Linked DNA regions of Homo sapiens: regions 1 and 3 are each linked to region 2. The links are contacts of gene promoters, found by promoter capture Hi-C in human tissues and cell types (Jung and others, 2019). All regions are on one chromosome and are shown on one strand. The core of a region is centred on a gene start or on the middle of the fragment in contact, and the rest is flanking DNA. Distances in the headings are between cores, read along the strand shown. Region 1 overlaps CELF1 (CUGBP Elav-like family member 1). Region 2 holds the start of ACP2 (acid phosphatase 2, lysosomal). Region 3 holds the start of AGBL2 (AGBL carboxypeptidase 2).

The links. Contacts are between HindIII fragments. The study calls those that stand out against the background at their distance.
Region 1: a fragment that was not itself captured here is called in contact with the fragment with the promoter of ACP2 in region 2 in 1 of the 25 tissues and cell types used here (hippocampus).
Region 3: a contact is called between the fragment with the promoter of AGBL2 here and the fragment with the promoter of ACP2 in region 2, in 2 of the 25 tissues and cell types used here (adrenal gland and heart left ventricle).

The regions. Positions count from the first base shown.
Region 1 is chr11:47,541,220-47,543,919 of GRCh38, forward strand. The region is part of intron 1 of CELF1 (CUGBP Elav-like family member 1); the gene reads right to left. Among named protein-coding and RNA genes, the nearest start is that of CELF1, 11 kb to the right of the region's middle. RefSeq lists an enhancer at 948-1,447. The HindIII fragment of the contact is 9,031 bases long and covers 1-2,700 here.
Region 2 is chr11:47,247,518-47,250,217 of GRCh38, forward strand. ACP2 (acid phosphatase 2, lysosomal) reads right to left here and starts at 1,297. Exons shown (of 11, transcript NM_001610.4): 1 at 1,159-1,297; 2 at 521-616; 3 at 124-210. The coding sequence starts at 1,272. It also overlaps a transcript of NR1H3 not described here. RefSeq lists enhancers at 763-852, 983-1,492 and a silencer at 1,573-1,740. The HindIII fragment of the contact is 13,067 bases long and covers 1-2,700 here.
Region 3 is chr11:47,713,921-47,716,620 of GRCh38, forward strand. AGBL2 (AGBL carboxypeptidase 2) reads right to left here and starts at 1,449. Exons shown (of 19, transcript NM_024783.4): 1 at 1,255-1,449; 2 at 698-830; 3 at 364-427. The coding sequence starts at 730. FNBP4 (formin binding protein 4) reads right to left here. Exons shown (of 17, transcript NM_015308.5): 17 at 2,574-2,700. RefSeq lists an enhancer at 1,127-1,186. The HindIII fragment of the contact is 9,102 bases long and covers 1-2,700 here.

The DNA of each region.
Region 1 (2,700 bases), core at 106-2,605, 290 kb after region 2:
ACTCACAGTAGACTATTAGTCACCTCACATTATCACCAATATCATACATATTCACACAGTCTGCAAGAGCTTACTCAATCTCACAGGAAACAAAAAGGTAAAAGAACAAGGAGAAAGTGGTGACAGTTTCTAACTTAATGATTATTTTGCTAAAGAGTAGCAATGTTACTATGAAAATGGAAACTACTTGGCCAGGTGTGGAGGCTCACACTTGTAATCCCAGCACTTTGGGAGGCCAAGGCGGGTGGATCTCCTGAGGTCAGGAGTTTGAGACCAGCCTGGCCAACATGGTGAAACCCCGTCTCTACTTAAAACACAAAATTAGCTGGGTGTGGTGGCGCATGCCTATAATCCCAGCAACTTGGGAGGCTGAGGCAGGAGAATCGCTTGAACCCAGGAGGCAGAGGTTGCAGCGAGCCAAGATCTCACCACTGTACTCCAGAGCCTGGTGACAGGGCGAGACTGTCAAAGAAAGAAAGAAAGAAAGAAAGAAAGAAAGAAAGAAAGAACGAAAGAAAGAACGAAAGAAAGAAAGAACGAAAGAAAGAACGAAAGAAAGAACGAAAGAAAGAACGAAAGAAAGAAAGAAAGAAAGAAAGAAAGAAAGAAAGAAAGAAAATGGAAACTACTGACCCTTCGAAATTAAAAGTATAACAGTACAAAATTACACAGCCCAGGAATCAAAAAACTTCATTTTGCATAATCCCCAAACTAAAGACATTCCCCCCCAAAACACAGTTTTAATGGAGTTATAACTTAGAAAGAAAGTAAAATTATTCAACTCCATTTTGTCAAAGCTGAATGTAGCTATAAAAAGAAGACCTGGAGGTCATAAAGTTAGTGGAGAGTTCTTTCTAAAGCCGTACTGGGCTGGGCGCGGTGGCGTGCGTCTGTAATTTCAGCACTTCGGGAGGCCGAGGCAGGTGGATCACCTGAGGTCAGGAGTTCGAGACCAGCCTAGCCAACATGGTGAAACCCCATCTCTACTAAAAATACAAAAATTAGCCAGGCATGCTGGCAGGTGCCTATAATCCCAGCTACTCGAGGTTGAGGCAGAAGAATCGCTTCAACCCGGGAGGCGAAGGCTGCAGTGAGCTGAGATCGCACCACTGCACTCCACCCTGGGCAACAAGAGTGAAACTCTGTCTCAAATAAATAAAGCCGTATCTGCACCCATGAACATATCTAAAAGTGGCACATCAAATTTGATTAAGTGAGATCCATTAGGTATCAATGCAATCACTAAAAAAACCTCATCATTCTTGATACTTTCTCCATTTTTTTTTTTTTTTTTTTTTGAGACAGGGTCTCCCTGTTGCCCAGGCTGGAGTGTAGTGGCGTGATCTCAGTTCACTGCAACCTTCACCTCCTGGGTTCAAGCCATTCTTGTGCCTCAGCCACTTGAGGAGCTGGGATTACAGACACGCACCACCACATCTGGCTAAGTCTTGTATTTTCAGTAGAGACAGTGTTTCACCATGTTGGCCAGGCTGGTCTCAAACTTCTGGCCTCACGTGATCCGCGTGTCTTGGCCTCCCAAAGTGCTGGGATTAAAGGCGTGAGCCACCGTGCTCAGCTTTACAACATATCAACAGGGCTGGACTGTGCTCATCTTTAGAAAATATCAACAGGGCTGGGTGCGGCAGCTCACACCTGTAATCCCAACACTTTGGGAGGCCAAGGCAGGAGGATCACTTGAGGACAGGTGTTCAAGACTAGGAGAGATCCCGTCTCTACAAATACTACAAAAATTAGCCAGGTGTAGCAGTGTGCACCTGTAGTCCCAGCTACTCGGAAAGCTGAGGCTGGAGGATCGCTTGAGCCCAAGAGTTCCAGGCTATAATTGCACCACTGCACTCAAGTCTGGGCAACAAAGAGAGATCCTGTCTCTAATGGAAAAGAAGGCCAGCATGGTAGCTCATGCCTGTAATCCCAGCACTTTGGGAGGCCGAGGCAGGAGGATTGCTAGAGACCAGGGGGTCAAGACCAGCCTGGGAAACATAGTGGGACCCCATCTCTACAAAAAATAAAATTAGCCAAGCGTGGTGTTGCGCACCTATAGTCCCGGCTACTTGGGAGGCTGAGGTGGGGAAGAATCACTTGAGGCCTGGGAGGTTGAGGCTACAGTGAGCCACGATAACGCCACTGCACTCCAGCCTGAGTGACACAATGAGACCTTGTCTCGGAAAACAACAGCCCAAAAAAGCCCCAAACTTTACAAATCTGGAACTTAATGAAGTGTAAAATAAACAAATATGTACTCATGGCCTCCACAGCACAGCAGAGGTTAAAAAATAACTATAGAATTCTATAAAGAAACCTCTACTTTAAGAAGATTCTAAGCCAATTCTATGACAAGACCAAAGTTATTTTACAAAGGTCTCATCAAGGAAACTGTCTTCAAGGCAGTCATGATGTTGCCCTCCTGTAATCAATCCCAACTACTCAGGAGGCTGAGACAGGAGGACTGCTTGAGCTCAAGAGTTTGCACCAGTTTGGGCTACATAGCGGACCCGTGGACCCCTGTCCCCACCCCGTCTCTAAAAAAAAAAGAAAGCTGTTTTCGGCAAATAAGGACTCTTGATACAATATAGTTTACAAAGCAAATAGCTAAAACTGATTAAGTCTTAAATCTGCATTACAACTCTAAATATTAGAGCCCTCCTCCCCGCCTCAACTTGTCACTTGAAACTACGAAGA
Region 2 (2,700 bases), core at 47-2,546:
GTAGTTGTGACCAAAAATACAAGAAGGAGGCCAAAGTGCCCAGCCTCAGCCTTAGGCTCCCTGAGGGCAAAAGATGAGGGCAGCATACCTTGTTCCCCTTGCCTCTGGAGCTCCCAACCTTACCTCTTGCCGGTGATAAGAGGTGTTTAGGAAGCCGTGATAGCGCTGCCGCAGGGCCTGGCCCAGTTCCCAGTGCTGTAGCATCCCCTCCTGTGGGCAAACCCAAGGGTTAAGAGGGTCTAGAGGGAAGGGGTGGCTTCAAGCCCCATGGGGTTTAGGCCCTGTTGCTTTCCAGGTTCACGCTTTGCTGGAGTCAATTAATCTGATCCCAGAAGTCTTTCATTAAGTGGCCAGTCATGCACAGCAATATCATGGGCACAGAGATTAAGGTTATGAAATCTGGTCAAAGTCAGCACCCATATGGGAAAAGGCAGTTTAGTAGGACCCCAAGTTTTGTAGACTGCTCTAGACGTCGCTCATTCTGCAGCTCATCCTGAGGAAAGGCTGGCTTCTGACCCACCTTGGTTAACTGACCAAACCCCTGGGGCCATTCTTCTTCCTGATAGGGGTCCTTGGGATATGTCTTCACTGGTGAACGGTCTCCATGGCGGTACAGCTGAGAGAATAAAATGGTTTGCCTATAGGTCAGAAGCATCCCCTTGATAGGGACCCAGAGCCTACCTTTTGCCCCATGTTAGGGAAGGAAGTCTCATTCCCTCTGGGAAGCCTACTGGCTGCAAAAGACCCCAGCTAGGAGTCAGTCACTTCTTCCAGATTCCAGAGATTCTAACTTAGCTAAGCAATGCTACTGGAGACCATAGGCAAAGCCAAGGTACAGGTAGGAAGGGAAAAGAGAAGTGAAAGCAACGTATGTGGTGGGGACAACTGGGGAAAAAAGATAACCAAAGGCTTCTTTAGGGATGAGTCTTAACCATTCAACCACTTCCCTGTCTCAAGGCAGACTCACCCCGACGTATTCGGTCATCCTGACTCCCATAAGCCAGGGCTCCAGGTCAATCCTGAATCCAGCCTCCCAACTACCCAGGCCAGTCGTCCCCTCCTAAACCAGCTGTTCCTTCCCGAGATCCTCGACCTCCACCAGCTGGCCTTTGCCCTTTTAGCTTCAGGGAAGTCTTTGGTGAGCCCATCTCTCATTACCAAGGTAACGAAGCGCAGACTCCGGGCCCGGGTGGGCGGCATCACCACCAGGTTCACGCCGAGAAGGAGCTGGAGGAGAGCCGCCCGGCTCCAGCCGGACCGCTTGCCCGCCATCACCGTTGTAATCTATGCAGCAAACAAGCTGGAACCCGCTGGGTGGCACCTGCAAGCAGCCGCCCGGACGCACCCGTAAGGACACACGCCGGAAGTGCGTTCGCCGCCATCTTACTTAGGGACCTGCTGGGGTGCGGGGAAAAGGCGCAGTCTCGGTGGGATTGCGTGCAGGAGGGTCGTGGTCTGGCTGTGGCGGAGGAGCATAAGAAGGTAACGCGACCTGGCGCGGCAGACAGGGCTCGAAGACCTCATCTTGATTAAGAAGGCCACAAATTCGCGTTTGCCTCTGCTCGGAGAAATCCCTTACCAAGGTGGCACTTGCAGTGGGCGGGACCATGTCTGGAGAACCAGCGTCCCCTCCAGGCTTGACCCCATAGCTAGATCGGGTGCAGAATTGAGGCGAGGGATGGGAAAGTAGAGGTCGCTTCTCTCCACGCCCCTGCCTTTGTGGGGAGATTGAGCCCTGGCCCTGTTCTCCAGGAGATGTTTTGCTTGGGGTGCAGGACACAGTATGTAAACAACCCTTTGGACTCCGTGTGTCCTTGAGGTTGCCCCAGTCTGGCCTACCGTTCCTGCCCTGCACAAAGCTTCAGTAGCCCTCTCACTTTCCCTTCCAGTCCTTTCCCTGTCCTCCCTCCCCTCCACTTCCAAGTTTTAGTTAATTAGAGTCAAGACGTCATGTCATGCCTCTTCCCAAAGGAGTTGGGTTGCACAGGATGTTCAGACTTTACAAACCCAAAGCACTGAATCCCTGGGGGAGGAATTTCAGACCAGTGGGGAGGTATTTTGAGGTAAGGGACAGGCGCATATCATAAAGTGGGAGTAGGTGGGGTTTCCACAGAATCAATGGCCCTCTTGGCATTGACCATTAGGATTCAGGTGCAGCCAGTTTGGCCTCAGGACTTTGTGACTCCTGTGACGGTTGCAGGTCAGATCATAGGTCCTGGGGATGCTTTGATTCAGATCTGCCTACTGGAAGCAAATCTCCTCAGATCTTTGGGAAACAAAACTGATCAGGCTTGGCCTGGGCGCCGTGGCTCACCTGTAATACCAGCACTTTGAGAGGCCGAAGCAGGCAGATCACCTGAGGTCAGGAGTTCGAGACCAGCCTGGCCAACGTGGCGAAACCCCGTCTCTACTAAAAATACAAAAAAAAAAAAATTAGCCGGGTGCAGTGGCGTGCTCCTGTAATCCCAGCTACTCTGGAGGCTGAGGCAGGAGAATCGCTTGAACTCGGAAAGCGGAGGTTGCAGTGAGCTGAGATCACGCCACTGCACTCCAGCCTGCGCGACAGAGTGAGACTGTCTCAAAACAACAACAACAAAAACCTGATTAGGCTTGGTGTGGTGGCTCACGTTTCTAATCCCAGCACTTTGGGAGGCCAGGGTGGGAAGATTGCTTGAGCCCAGGAGTTGGAGACCAGCCTGA
Region 3 (2,700 bases), core at 199-2,698, 470 kb after region 2:
ACTCAAGAACAGCCGTGACACTTCTGAAGAACAAGGTGGGAAGACATGTCTTTCCAGATAAAGACTATTTTAATGCCATATAGTAATTAAGAGACAGTGATACTGGTAAAGGATAGCCAAACAGACCAATGGAATAGAGAGCCCAGAAACAGACCTTTGTATTAAGTGATGCTGTCTACTTGACAGAGGTGACCCGCAGATCAATGGGGAAAGGAAGTACTTTTCACTAATGGTAGAGGAAAAAGTATTTATTTGTCAATGCAAATTATTTATTAGTCTACCCAAGTGCAACCCTCCCAGCTAACGAAGCAATTTTCCTCTTGAGTCCAGGAAAGGTGATACTAGATAAGAACATGGTATTACCTTTAAAGTAGCCATAATATTGGAGGTGACGGTACATAAAGTCTTCATAAGGATCAGGAATAGTCTGTGAAAGGAAAGGCCACTTCAATCAAGATAATGTTTTCAAACCATAATAGACTCAACAAAAAGTACATGAGCGTTGTTGCATAGGACTAGACTAAACCAAGCGAGCTGCATTCCATGCGAATTATTCTATCGTGGGGATCAAGATCTCCAGCTGAGAAAAGATGCCACCAGAACATCCCTTCTCATCTAGTAGCAGATTTCTGTGGAGTTCCCGAAGAAATGGAGTTCCCCGAAGAAATTTCTGTGGCTTTCCGTGTTGTGTACCGACCTGCTTTAGGTGCGTTTCCAAAGCTGGGAACATGTTACTTCTGGATGGTAGGCTGAAAACTAGTCAGTGACATTAGCATCCAGTCGCAAACCCTGCCCAATTTCCAAATAGGCAGCTGATTACACAAGAGAAGCTACAAAGCCACAAGAGGACAAGTGAAAAAACTGCCAATACCTCCCCGGGCGCCCCCCAGCTCCCTCTTGACTTCAGAAAACCCTGCCAACCCAGCTTCTCCTCAGCTAAACAAGGTGGTCACGCCGAGGCCAGAGGTGCATCTGAGACAGGGAGGGCAGCGTATCTTCCCGCTTCTTCTTCCCAAGGTGCTGGCCCCATGCTTCCCTTTCCCTGAGAAAGGAGATGCTCGCCACAGGAAAGTGAAAGAAATGGGTATGGGAGCACGCGACGAAGTCGTCTCGGTAGGTGCCGATGGAAAAAGGTCAGGGGGTTGGGAAAGTGGGCCCTAAAGATTGAATTTAGGGTTCAGAGGAACCTGGTCTGGGGCAGGTGGTGAGGGGGTTTCCTAAGGGTAGGAGCGGGGAAGGAGAGCAGAAACTTCCCAGGAGGGCAGAGCGATGGATGCGACCGCCTTCGCGCCCCGGCCCGTCCCAAGCAGCACGGATGGCTGCGGCAGAGAAGCTCCAGCGAGGCAGGCGGCCACCGCACTTAAGTACAGAGGCCAAGCAGTGTGCGGGCAAGGGGACAAACTCGCTGCACCCGCCCGCCACCGCCTTCTGTGAGGGCCCGGGTAGTCTAGCAACCGAAAGCAGGAAGCGGAGAAAGGGCGGGGCGGTCGGGCGCTTCCGGGGAGCTAGGCCTCGCCCCCAAGGAGGGAGCGGGGACCCCGGGAAGGTCTGCAACATGTATGGCGGGCAGCGGCTTTCTTCCCCTCATACATCACAGCCCCAGCCTCGGAATCGAAACCGCATTGATGAGTACGATGCCAGTAGCCTTCAACATACTTCCAAGCTGGTTTGCTGTTGGCTTTAGATAACTGTTATGCATAATTTGCTCTAAGAGAGCTGCTGCTTCTCTCCTTTCACCTTAACATTCTCTCCACTGCACAGCTAGAAAGGAAAAATTACCTTCTACACTGCAAATCTTAAGAAACAGAGCTAACAAATTCAAATCACACATTTTGATTAGGTTTAAAAAAATCAATTATATGCATAGAAATTTACTCCAGGCCAGGCGCGGTGGCTCTCGCCTGTAATCCCAGAACTTTGGGAGGTCGAGAGTTGGAGACTAGCCTGACCAACATGGAAAAACCCCATCTCTACTAAAAATACAAAATTAGCTGGGTGTGGTGGCGCATGCCTGTAATCCCAGCTACTCGGGAGGCTGAGGCAGGAGAATCACTTGAACCTGGGAGGCGGAGGTTGCGGTGAGCCGAGATCGTGCCATTGCACTCCAGCCTGAGCAACAAGAGCGAAATTCTGTCTCCAGAAAAAAAAAAAACAAAAAACCAACAACAAAAAAATAAATATACTACAATAAAATTCAAACACGTGTCTTTGGTTAACTATATATGAATATAACCGTATCTGTTACTTTTATCAGTGGGGGGAAAAAAGCTATAAAGCACCTTTTTTTCTGAAATGTTAACCATATTACATCATTGCCAGGAATTAAGTAGGTAAAATATTATCTAATATGGCTATTAACCAATCTAGATATTATAGATAATATTAGACCCCAAAACTTTGATCACACAGCACCATCTGGGACTAGAAGCCTGTTTGTCTAAACTGGCCCCACCACTCCCCATTAAAGATCTCCTGCTCATTTTCTTGAAAGCTGTTGTTAAATGTTTGCACCTTGCATTGTATATGCTTAGAAAAAAAAACAAGTCCTGGTTACATAATCAGAATAACAGGAGTTGACGAGCAAAAGGATAACCCATCAGGATTATAAAAAAAGCTTTATTAGTGCATATATACAAATTTACAAGGTCAGAAACTGGAGAAATACAAAGAGCTTTAAAACACAATTTGCCGTTTCCTCAG